2 separate regions of the Homo sapiens genome follow, and region 2 is linked to region 1. The links are contacts of gene promoters, found by promoter capture Hi-C in blood cells and fetal thymus (Javierre and others, 2016). All regions are on one chromosome and are shown on one strand. Each heading gives the region's core, a stretch centred on a gene start or on the middle of the fragment in contact. The rest is flanking DNA. Distances are from core to core; before and after follow the strand shown. Region 1 holds the start of BCL2L1 (BCL2 like 1). Region 2 has its middle 14 kb from the start of COX4I2.

Region 1 (6,010 bases), core at 3,368-5,867:
TTAGGTGCCATCTTGGAGGAAGCTAGATGCTACAAACTCTAAATTGTATATTGCCTATTTCTAAACTGTATATAAGTAGAATCTTCCTACATTATTCTTTTGCCATTTTTTCCATTCAATATGTTTCTGAGATTCCCTTTTTTTTTTTTTTTGAGAGGGTGTCTTACTCTGTCACCCAGGCTGGAGTACAGTGGTATGATCACAGCTCACTGTAGCCTTGACCTCCCAGGCTTAAGCGATTCTTTTGCCTCAATCTACTCAGTTGCTAGGGACAACAGGTGTATGCCACCAGGCCTGGCTAATTGTTCTTTTTCTGTTTTTGTTTTTGTTTTATTTTGTAGAGAGGGGGTCTCACTATATTGCCTAGGCTGGTATTGAACTCCTGGGCTCAAGCATCTTTCCGCCTTGGACTCCCAAAGTGGTGGGATTACAGGTGTGAGCCACCATGGCTGGTCTGTTTCTGGGATTCTTCTTTTTTTTTTGAGGCAGAGTCTCACTCTGTTGCCCAGGCTGGAGTGTGGTGGCATGCTCTCAGCTCATTGCAAACTCTGTCTCCTGGGTTCAAGTGATTCTCCTGCCTCAGCCTCCTGAGTAGCTGGGATTACAGGCACCTGCCACCATGCCTAGCTAATTTTTGTATTTGTAGTAGAGACGGACTTTCACCATGTTGGCCAGGCTGGTCTTGAACCCCTGACCTCGTGATCCACCCGCCTTGGCCTCCCAAAGTGTTGGTACTACAGACGTGAGCCACTGTGCCCGGCCAAAGTTAGCATGTTTTTAGATAGTGTTATATAATTAAAAATAATAGCTGGACGCAATGGCTCACGCCTGTAATCCCAGCACTTTGAGAGGCCGAGGCCGGCGGATCACAAAGTCAGGAGTTCGAGACCAGCCTGACCAACATGGTGAGACAGGAGAATCACTTGAAGCCGGGAGGCACAGGTTGCAGTAAGCCGAGGTTGTGCCACTGCACTCCGGCCTTGGCGATAGAACAAGACTCTGTATCAAAAAAAAAAAAAAAAAAAAGAGGGAGGCTGAGGCCAGAGAATCGCTTGAACCCAGGAGGCAGAGGTTGCAGTGAGCCAAGATCATGCCACTGCACTCCAGCCTGGGCAACAGAGCAAGACTCCATCTCAAAAAAAAAAAAAAAAGAAAAAGAAAAAAGAAAAAAAATACAAAGTTATGTGTAGACAACATAGAGAAGTATAAAAAAGAAAACTTATTTTCTTTAGATTTAAATGTAACTTATTTTCTTTAAATTAGATTCCAGTCAAAGATCATTTGAGAGCCATTTTCAAGACTTGCAAAATTCTTTTTCCAAAATATGTATCCATCTTTCCAAAATATAAATTTCTTCATGTTCTTTCTGGTTTAAAAAAATCTTTGCTGGCTCCTCTGGTGCTATTTGATGTGCTGCTCGCATGGATACACATTTATATTCCATCCCCTCTCCACCACTCCCCTCAGCCATCCCAATTTATTTCCAGGACACCATGGGCTCTCACGCTGGGCTGCCAGGCCTTCGCTCAAGCAATATCTTCTGCTTAAAATGCTCCTACATCCTTTCTCACCCAAGCAAAATTCTATTCTTTTGAGGGCCAGTTCAGTAAAGCCCCTATCTGTGGACAGAGTTTATCTGCCCTCTGCTGGGCTCCCAAAGCACACTGAGGCTTCCATAATGATAGTTTTCACATTGAGATAATTGTGGCACCATAGGTTCAAAAATGTAAATCAGACCGGGCGCGCTGGCTCACACCTGTAATCCCAGCACTTTGGGAGGCCAAGGTGGGCGGATCACGAGGTCAGGAGTTCGAGACTAGCCTGACCAACTGGTGAAACCCCGTCTCTACTAAAAATACAAAAATTAGCCGGGCGTGGTGGCAGGTGCCTGTAATCCCAGCTACTCAGGAGGCTGAGGCAGGAGAATCACTTGAACCCAGGAGGCGAAGGCTGCAGTGAGCCGAGATCGCACCACCGCACTCCAGCTTGGGTGACAGAGCAAGACTCCATCTCGAAAAACAGCAAAAAAAATGTAAATCAGAGCCAGGTGTGGTGGCTAATGCCTGTAATTCCAGGACTTTGGGAGGCCGACATAGACAGATCACTTGAGCCCAGGAGTTTGAGACCAGCCTGGGCAACATGGGGAAACTCCATTCTCTACAAAAAATACAAAAATTAGCTGGGTGTGGAGGTGCGAGCCTGTATTCACAACTACTGGGGAGGCTGAGGTGGGAGGATCACCTGGGATGGGGAGGTCGAGGCTGCTGTGAGCTGAGATCACACCATTGCACTGCAGGCTGGGTGACATACCCTGTCTCAAAAAAAAAAAAAAAAAAAAGGCCGGGCACGGTGGCTCATGTCTGTAATCCCAGCACTTTGGGAGGCTGAGGCAGTCGGATCACCTGAGGTCAGCAGTTTGAGACCAGCCTGGCCAAAATGGTGAAACCCTGTCTCTACTAAAAATACAAAAATTAGCCGGGCGTGGTGGTGTGTACCTGTAGTCCCAGATACTAGGGAGGCTGAGGCAGGACAATCACTTGAACCTGGCGGGCAGAGTTTACAGTGAGCCAAGATAGCACCACTGCACTCCAGCCTGTGCAACAGAGCAAGACTCCATCTCGAACAAACAACAATAACAAAAAAAAAAAAAAAAATGAGGAAAGAGTTCAACAGAAAGACCACCTGAAAAAGGGGTAAACAATATGAAGAAAATTCACCAATACAAGATCCACCACCCTCCAAAGAAAGACTAAAAAATATGACAAATTGCTCAACTTCATTCATAATAAAAAAAGAAATATGAAAGTGCCTTCGGTTTTTACCCATCTAATTGGCAAGGATAAAACATTTGATAACACACTGTGTGGTTCAGGGTGTAAGGAAATTGGCGGGGCGCGGTGGCTCACGCCTGTAAACGATTCTCCTGTAAGCGAGTCTGCTGCCTCAGCCTCCCGAGTAGCTGGGATTACAGGCATGCGCCACCACGCCCAGCTAATTTTTTGTATTTTTAGTAGAGACGGGGTTTCACCACATTGGCCACGCTGGTCTTGAACTCCTAACCTCAGGTGATCCGCCCGCCTCGGCCTCCCAAAGTGCTGGGATTACGGGCGTGAGCCACCGCGCCCGGCCTGTCCTATGGAGTTTACAATTAATAACTCTCTTAATCATCACAATAGCTCAACGAGAGAGGTTGGTACTATTACCCATTTTACAATTGAGGACATTGAAGCACAGAGCAGTTGAGAAACTTGCCTAACTAGCAGAGTTAGAATCCAGACAAAGTGCTTAACCACAAGGCGATGCTTCTTCTATATATAAACTGACGGACGGATGAAATAGGCTGATTGACTGATGAGTGACTGACTGACTGACTGAATGAATAAATGGAAATGTGATTATAAATGTTGATTTTTTGCGCCTCCCGATTCCCCAGATCTACCGCGAGGGGGCGATCTCTCCCCGGTCCTGATGCCAGTCACTCAAGGCGCGCACTCCCTTTGCGTCTCGGGCTCGCGCGCGTTGCCGCGGCACCGGAAGTGACTGAGCTTGCAAGTTCCCCTGTCTCTTCAGGGGAAACTGAGGCCGGCTTGTTCGGGAGAGACGGCGCGAGCAGTCAGCCAGGTAGGCCGGCAGCCAGGTAGGCCGGCCCGGGTCCGCGGCGCGGAACTCGGCCGCGAAGAGCTCTTGCGTCTGGAAGCTACCGGGCCGATGAAGGGGGATGTGGCCCCCCACGGCTCGCGGGGCTCGCAGGTGAGAGCGCCGCCTCCCCTGTGCGTGACAGCCGTTGCGCCCAATAGGAGCCTTCGCCGTCCCGCTTCCGTGCCGGCTGGGCTCGCTGATTGGCTGCGCTGGGGCGGACCGCCGGGGGCGAGGCCCCTCCTCTCAGGAAGGTCTAGGGGGCGCCCCCGGGGGAGGGCGGTTGCCTAGCAACGGGGCGGTGGCTCGGCGGGTACCCGGCCTAGTGAGCTCGAGAAGCCGCTAGGCCGCAGCCGGCCCACCCTGGGCTCCGGAGAGGTGCAGCCCCCGGCCCCGGAGCCCTCCCGGGGGCGCCAGAAAGCCACTTTGGGCCTGTCCCCAGGAAAACGTGGTCTCAGCTGTGGGGCCGTCGAGCAGGCCTCGACCCCTCTTCCTGACCTGAGGAGAGGCCCAGCGCCTCACCCTCACCCAGTCTTTGTGCAGGGCGCCGGCGGCCATTGTGTCCGGGCGGGGAATGGAGGACCCGGCAATCCCCAACTGCCACGTTCTGGGCCTTTGGGGAATTCAGAGCAAACCAGCGGCATTTGTTGGGGGTCTCCGGCCTTCAACATCACAGACAGGCCTGGGGGTGGCCTTCCCAAAGTCAGATTGCAGATCTGAGGCAGTTTCCCCCTCCCTGCGTCCCTCACTGAAACCTTGAACCCCATTGAGAAGTCCCTTTAGGGTTTCGGACGCCTCCACCTCACCCTGGGCTGGTGCTTAAATAGAAAAAAGAAAAACAAAAACCAACTAAATCCATACCAGCCACCTCCGGGAGAGTACTCCTGGCTCCCAGTAGGAGGCGGAGAGCCAAGGGGCGTGCAAGAGAGAGGGGGCTGGGCTCCCGGGTGGCAGGAGGCCGCGGCTGCGGAGCGGCCGCCCTCGATCCGGGCGATGGAGGAGGAAGCAAGCGAGGGGGCTGGTTCCTGAGCTTCGCAATTCCTGTGTCGCCTTCTGGGCTCCCAGCCTGCCGGGTCGCATGATCCCTCCGGCCGGAGCTGGTTTTTTTGCCAGCCACCGCGAGGCCGGCTGAGTTACCGGCATCCCCGCAGCCACCTCCTCTCCCGACCTGTGATACAAAAGATCTTCCGGGGGCTGCACCTGCCTGCCTTTGCCTAAGGCGGATTTGAATGTAGGTGGTGCGGGGGAGCGGGAGTGGGGCGGGGGGGACTGCCCAGGGAGTGACTTTCCGAGGAAGGCATTTCGGAGAAGACGGGGGTAGAAAAGGCTGGTGGGAGATTCAGAGTCCACTGGTGCTTTCGATTTGACTTAAGTGAAGTATCTTGGAACCTAGACCCAGACCTTCGTAAGACCCACAAAGAAACCAGTTCTGGTACCTGGAGGGGGAATGGAATTTTTAGGGTAAATGGCATGCATATTAATTATTTTTTTTTCCTGAAGCTCTTTCTCTCCCTTCAGAATCTTATCTTGGCTTTGGATCTTAGAAGAGAATCACTAACCAGAGACGAGACTCAGTGAGTGAGCAGGTGTTTTGGACAATGGACTGGTTGAGCCCATCCCTATTATAAAAATGTCTCAGAGCAACCGGGAGCTGGTGGTTGACTTTCTCTCCTACAAGCTTTCCCAGAAAGGATACAGCTGGAGTCAGTTTAGTGATGTGGAAGAGAACAGGACTGAGGCCCCAGAAGGGACTGAATCGGAGATGGAGACCCCCAGTGCCATCAATGGCAACCCATCCTGGCACCTGGCAGACAGCCCCGCGGTGAATGGAGCCACTGGCCACAGCAGCAGTTTGGATGCCCGGGAGGTGATCCCCATGGCAGCAGTAAAGCAAGCGCTGAGGGAGGCAGGCGACGAGTTTGAACTGCGGTACCGGCGGGCATTCAGTGACCTGACATCCCAGCTCCACATCACCCCAGGGACAGCATATCAGAGCTTTGAACAGGTAGTGAATGAACTCTTCCGGGATGGGGTAAACTGGGGTCGCATTGTGGCCTTTTTCTCCTTCGGCGGGGCACTGTGCGTGGAAAGCGTAGACAAGGAGATGCAGGTATTGGTGAGTCGGATCGCAGCTTGGATGGCCACTTACCTGAATGACCACCTAGAGCCTTGGATCCAGGAGAACGGCGGCTGGGTAAGAACCAAGCCCCTTGTGTGTCCCTTTTCTTTGGCCTCTGGTCAGAGATCCCCAACAGCCCTTCTTCTGTATCTCTTTCTGTTGTGTTGGGTGATTGTTGGAGACGTTGATAGTTGAGGAAACCTGACTGGCCTCATTTCACCACAAGAGGTTAACTCCTTGGAAATACAAATGACC
Region 2 (6,497 bases), core at 3,346-5,845, 73 kb after region 1:
TTGGAGCAGGACCCTGAAACGAGACTGCCCAGGGGAGGCAGGTGCCCTTGGACAAGTGACGTAACCTCTCTGTTCCTGAGTTTTTTGCCTAAAAAATAGGGGTGCTAATCATACCTACTTCATGAGGTAGTTACACAGGTTTAATGCTCGTAAAGTGCTTAAGGATGGTATCTGGCACTGTAAGTACTATTTTTTTTTTTTTTTTTTTTTGAGACGGAGTCTCTCTGTCGTTCAGGCTGGAGTGCAGTGGTGCCATCTCGGCTCACTGCAAGCTCCGCCTCCCGGATTCATGCCATTCTCCTGCCTCAGCCTCCCACAGAGCTGGGACTACAGGTGCCCGCCACCTTGCCCGGCTAATTTTTTTGTATTTTTTAGTAGAGACGGGGTTTAACCGTGTTAGCCAGGATGGTCTCGATCTCCTGACCTTGTGATCCGCCCACCTTGGCCTCCCAAAGTGCTGGGATTACAGGTGTGAGCCACCGTGCCCGGCTGTAAGTACTATTTTTTATAGTAACTACTATAAATTGTATCAGACTGTGCTGCCAAACCACCACCAAGCTCTGCCTTAGTGTAGATTTCCCCCAAAAGCAAAGCCTAGAATAAAGATTCAGGGGCAAATGATTTAAGTGGGGAAGTGACACAAGGAAGGACAGGCAGCCAATATAGGGTGTAATAATGAGTAAGCTGCCACTCCAGGCAATGGGGCTCCTCCACCAGGGCATCCTTTGAAAAACCCGTGGAACACTGCTCAAAATTCTATCACTGAGGGAAAAGAACACCAAGGTGTTTATCCACCAACTCATCCCTCATTGGCTGAGGAGGGCTGCTTCAGGACTTTCTCCTTGACGTTTGGCATTTCCTGCCTGCCCCATGCTTGGTCAAAAACACACAGGTGGCTGTTCCCTTTAATGAGAACTGTCCACCAAAGCTTCAGAGAGCATCCTGCAGGCACATTGCCCACAGCGTCTGCCACAAGTTGTGATAATTTGTAGCACTCCAGGTGGAACAATTTGGTAGTTCTCAACTTCTGTTGTTACTGTTTTTGTTTTTGGAGACAGGGTCTGTTCTATTGCCCAGGCTGGAGCGCAGTGACATGATCGTGACTTACTGCAGCCTTGACTTCCCAAATTTGAGGATCCTCCCACCTCAGCCTCCCAAGTAGCTGGGACCACAGGCATGCACCACCATGCCCGGCTAATATTTTTTTATTTGTAGTAGAGACAAGGTCTCACTATGTTGCCCAGGCTTTAACTCCTGCTAATCCAAACAATACTGCAATCCATCATTTTGCATATATGCACATGTATCCACAGGGTACATCCCTAAAAGTAGAATTGCTGGGCCAAAGGGTGTATACATTAGTCATTTTGATGGATACAGTCCAATCAGGCAGCCTATGAAATCGCCTGTCCTCTGCACTCTTGCCAACATTCGTGTTAACACTCTGATCCTTGTCAATCTGGTAGATGAAAAAATAGTACTCATACTTTAAAATTTCATTTTTAAAAATCTAATTGAGGTTGGCATCTTTTCATGTATTTGAAAGCCATCTGTACTCCTAATAAGTTAATGAATCTACACAATGACCAATGAAAGCTGCTAATGCTACACAAAGACAACCAGGCGTCATGTGCTGCCTGCCAAGAGAACACAGCACACCCATAAAATATTCTTGCCAAAAAAATCAAGCGTGAGTCTAAGCTTCTAAATGTAATCACCATTTACAGAAAACAACGGGGACAGAGGGGCATAATAAGAGACACATGGGATTGCAATTACCAAAATACAGACTGGGGGAAATCCTCAGGACAAATGACTCAATTTTTTTCAACAAATGAAATGGAAGGGGAGGGAGGGGTAGGGAGAGAGAGAGAGATTATATATCAAAAGATATTTTAATATATATTAGGAAGAACCACTGGACTTCCACATCCAGGAAGATGGAGCAGATGTACTTTTCCCTATTTCTCCTCCTAAGTAAAACTAAGAACCTTTGACACTGTATATAAAATAAGAATAAGAAAACTCAGGCTGGGCGCGGTGGCTTATGCCTGTCATCCCAGCACTTTGGGAGGCTGAGGCAGATGGATCACTTGAGGCCAGGAGTTTGAGACCATTCTGCCCAACATGACAAAACCCTGTATCTACCAAAAATACAAAAAATAGCCAGGCATGGTGGCTCATGCCTGTGATCCCAGCTGCTAAGGAGGCTGAGGCATGAGAACTGCTTGAACCCAGGAGGTAGAGGTTGCAGTGAGCTGAGATCATGCCATTGCACTCCAGCCTGGGCCACAGAGTGAGACTCCATCTCAAAAAAAAAAGAAAGAAAGAAAAAGAAAAGGAAACTCTGAAAAGTGGAAAGAAGGCTGACCAGCTAGGGACCTTAAGACCTGAGACACAGCCAGGCGTGGTGGCTCATGCCTGTAATCCCAGCACTTTGGGAGGCCAAGAGGGCAGATCATGAGGTCAAGAGATGGAGACTATCCTGGCCAACATGATGAAACCCTGTCTCTACTAAAAATACAAAAATTAGCCAGGCATGGTGGCATGCACCTGTAATCCCAGCTACTCAGGAGGCTGAGGCAGAAGAATAGCTTCAACCCAGGAGGCGGAAGTGTCAGTGAGCTGAGATTGCGCCACTGCACTCCAGCCTGGGCGACAGAGCAAGACTCCGTCTCAAACAACAACAACAACAACAACAACAACAACAACAACAACCGTAATGAGATAGGTCTCATTATGTTGCCCAGGCTAATCTCAAAATCCTGGCCTCAGGCAGTCCTCCTGCCTCAACCTCCAAAAGTGTTGGGACTACAGGTGTGAGCCACCACACCCAGCCTTCAACTTCATTTTGTGTTGGTCATTTCTCCACATCTGTAGAATATTTTATTATCTGCTCACAATTCTGCCTTCTCTCCTCATGCCTCCATGCACATCCTGGCTGTAGGATATTTATCTGTCCATCGACACTGGGCTTGACCTCGGGTGGTAGACTGTATTTTCGAAAATGATCTCAAAAATTTTCCCTCTTGGCCAGGTGCAGGGCTCATGCCTGTAATCCCAGCACTTTGGGAGGCTGAGGCGGGAGGATTCCTTGAGCCCAGGAGTTCGAGTCTGCAGTGAGCTATGATCGTTCCACTGCACTCCAGCCTGGGTGACAGAGCGAGGCTTGGTCTCAAAAAGAGAGGAATGAGATCATGTCCTTTGCAGGGACATGGATGAAGCTGGAAGCCATCATCCTCAACAAACTAACACAGGAACAGAAAACCAAACATCGCATGTTCTCACTCATAAGTGGGAGCTGAACAATGAAAACACATGGACACAGGGAGGGGAACAACATACACCAGGGCCTGTGGGGGCGAGGGGAGGGAGAGCATCAGGACAAATAGCTAATGCACGCGGGGCTTAATACCTAGGTGATGAGTTCATAGGTACAACAAACCACCGTGGCACACGTTTACCTATGTAACAAACCTGCATGTTTTGCACATGTATCCTGGAACTTAAAATAAAATTAAAAAAAAAAAAAAGAAGAAATTTCCCTTCTCCCATGCACACCACATTTTACAATGGGATCTTGATGTCCTCCTACTGGGTGGTGGACTCCATGTCCTCTCCCTCTTGAACCTGGGTGTACCTTTGGTAGTGCCTTGACCATTGGGCTCCAGCAGAAATGATGCTTTTTGTCTTCTGAAGCTGAATCATAAAAAGACCATGCAGGCCAGGCACGGTGGCTCACACTTGTAATCCCAGCACTTTGGGAGGCCAAGGCGGGCGGATCACCTGAGGTCAGGAGTTCAAGACCAGCCTGGCCAACATGGTGAAACCCCATCTCTACTAAAAATACACACAAAAAAGCCGGGCGTGGTGGTGCACGTCTCTAATCCCAGCTATTTGGGTGGCTGAGGCACAAGAATCGCTTGAACCCAGGAGGCAGAGGTTGCAGTAAGCCGAGATGGCGCCATTGCACTCCAGCCTGGGCAACAGAGCAAGACTCTGTCTCAAAAAAAAAAAAGAAAAGAAAAGAAAGAAAGACAAGGCACTTCCCCTTCGCTCTCTTGGGACCCAGCCACTGTTTTTGTTTTTGAGACCGAGTCTCGCTCTGTCTCCAGGCTGGTGTGCAGTGGTACAATCTTGGCTCACTGCAACCTCCGCCTCTCGGGTTCAAGTGATTCTCCTGCCTCAGCCTCCCGACTAGTTGGGACTACAGGCACATGCCACCACACCCAGCTAATTTTTGTATTTTAGTAGAGACAGGGTTTCACCGTGTTGGCCAGGATGGTCTCGATCTATTGACCTCATGGTCTGCCTACCTCAGCCTCCCAAAGTGCAGGGATTATAGGCATAAGCCACCTCACCCGACCTCCAGCTACCATGTTTTAAGGGAGACCAAACTAGTCCACACAGAGTGACCATGGAGGGAAGCCACAAAGTGGTGTTCCAGTTGATCTGAGGTCCAGCTGTGGTCCCAGCATCAAGTGCTACATATGTGAGTGAAAACACCTCCAGCCAATCCTAGTCACAGCCCTTGAGTGTTTCCAGCTGAGGCCCCGGATGTTCTAGAGCAGAGGCAAGGGGTTTCCACCATACCCGGCCCAAATCCCTGACTCACAGAATCTCTGAACATAGTAAAATAATTGTTTTATGCCAGTCAGTCTCAGGTAGGTTTGTAATGCAGCAATCATAATTGGAATACCTTGGCCAGTGGAATGTGGTGCAGTTTTGTGTGTGCTTGTTTTGGGCCTGGACTTTAAGAGTGTCCCCACCCATTCCTCTGCCCTGCCAAAGTCTCAGACTTCTGCCATGAGAAGAACATGCCCTAGGTGTCCACTGGTCCCAGAACAAAAAGACAAACAGAATAACCTTCAGTCCAACTTTTTTTTTCCTGAAACAGAGTCTCGCTCTATTGCCCAGGCTGGAGTGGAGTGGCACAATCTCGGTTTACTGCAACATTCACCTCTGGGTTCAATCGATTCTTGTGTCTCAGCCTCCCAAGTAGCTGGGATTACAAGCGTGCACCAACACATCCAGCTAATTTTTGTATTTTTAGTAGAGATGGGGTTTCTCCATGTTGGCCGGGCTGGTCTAGAACTCCTGGCCTCAAGTGATCTGCCCTGCTCAGCCTCCCAAATCCTGGGATTACAGCCGTGAGCCACCGTGCCTAGCCCTGAGCCCAACTATTGTGGTCTCAATTGTGTCTCCCCAAATTCATATGTGGATGTTCTAACCCCCAGCACCTCAGAATGGGACTGCATTTGGAGATAAGACCTTTTAAAAGAGGTGATTAAGCCGGACACAGTGGCTCACGCCTGTAATCCCAGCATTTTGGGAGGCCGAGGCGGGTGGATCACGAGGTCAGGAGTTCAAGACCAGCCTGGCCAACATAGTGAAACCCCATCTCTACTAAACATACAAAAAATTAGCCAGGTGTGGTGGTGAGCACCTGTAATCCCAGCTACTCAGGAGGCTGAGGCAGGAGAACTGCTTGAACGAAGGAGAACTCCTTGAACCCGGGAGGCGGAGCTTGCAGTGAGCCGAGATCGCACCACTGCACTCCAGCCTGGACGACAAGAGAGAAACTCTGTCTCATAAATAAATAAATAAATAAATAAATAAATAGCTGATTAAGTTAAAATCCACAATAAATATTTGTTGGTTGAATGACTGTTGTCACAACTGCTTTGCTAAATTCTTCCTTTGGCACCTAGGGCATCTATGGAGACGTGCTACTCAGATTCTTCAAGAGAACCTGCTATGAAGAGGGTAGTTGTGTGACCACCTCCAGCTGCCACACTTTCAGACCTGCTGTAGTGTTCATGCTGAGGCCATGATCTTTCTGGGCCGCTCCCAACCAGGGACTGAGCACAATGGAGTTACTAGGTGTGATGGTTAACACTGAGTGTCAGCTGGGTGCAGTGGCTCATGCCTGTAGTCCCGGCACTTTGGGAGGCCGAGGTGGGAGGATCACGAGGTCAGGAGATCGAGACCATCCTGCTAACACAGTGAAACCCCGTCTCTACTAAAAATACAAAAAATTAGCCAGGCTTGGTGGTGGGCGCCTGTAGTCCCAGCTACTCAGGAGGCTGAGGCAGGAGAATGGCGTGAACCCAGGAGGCAGAGGTTGCAGTGAGCCGAGATCGCGCCATTGCATTCCAGCCTGAGTGACAGAGCGAGATTCCATCTCAAAAAAAAAAAAAAAAAAAAAAAAATTGAATGTCAACTTGATTGGATTAAAGGATGCAAAGTATTGTTCCTGGGTGTGTCTTGGAGGGTGTTGCCAAAGGAGATTAATGTTTGAGTCAGTGGACTAGGAGAGGCAGACTCACCCTCAATCTGGGTAGGTACCATCTAATCAGCTGCCAGCACAGCTGGGTTAAAAGTAGACAGAGGGGCCGGGTGTGGTGGTTCATGCTTGTAATCCCAGCACTTTAGGAGGCCAACGTGGGCGGATCACCTGAGGTCAGGAGTTCAAGACCAGCCTGGCCAACATGGTG

The links. The method cuts DNA at HindIII sites, captures the fragments that hold promoters and counts their contacts. A CHiCAGO score of 5 or more calls a contact.
Region 2: a fragment that was not itself captured here is called in contact with the fragment with the promoter of BCL2L1 in region 1 in 10 of 17 cell types (M1 macrophages, total CD8 T cells, endothelial precursors and 7 more); the score reaches 7.5 in M1 macrophages.

Annotation. Positions count from the first base shown.
Region 1 is chr20:31,721,475-31,727,484 of GRCh38, reverse strand. It overlaps BCL2L1 (BCL2 like 1), which reads left to right and starts at 4,617. Exons shown (of 3, transcript NM_138578.3): 1 at 4,617-4,867; 2 at 5,137-5,830. The coding sequence starts at 5,267. RefSeq lists enhancers at 3,519-3,718, 3,488-4,242, 4,249-4,308, 4,243-4,998 and silencers at 3,749-4,198, 4,405-4,699, 4,599-4,708, 4,759-4,878. The HindIII fragment of the contact is 6,728 bases long and covers 1-5,316 here.
Region 2 is chr20:31,648,184-31,654,680 of GRCh38, reverse strand. No RefSeq gene overlaps it. Among named protein-coding and RNA genes, the nearest start is that of COX4I2, 14 kb to the right of the region's middle. RefSeq lists a silencer at 6,208-6,408. The HindIII fragment of the contact is 5,783 bases long and covers 1,704-6,497 here.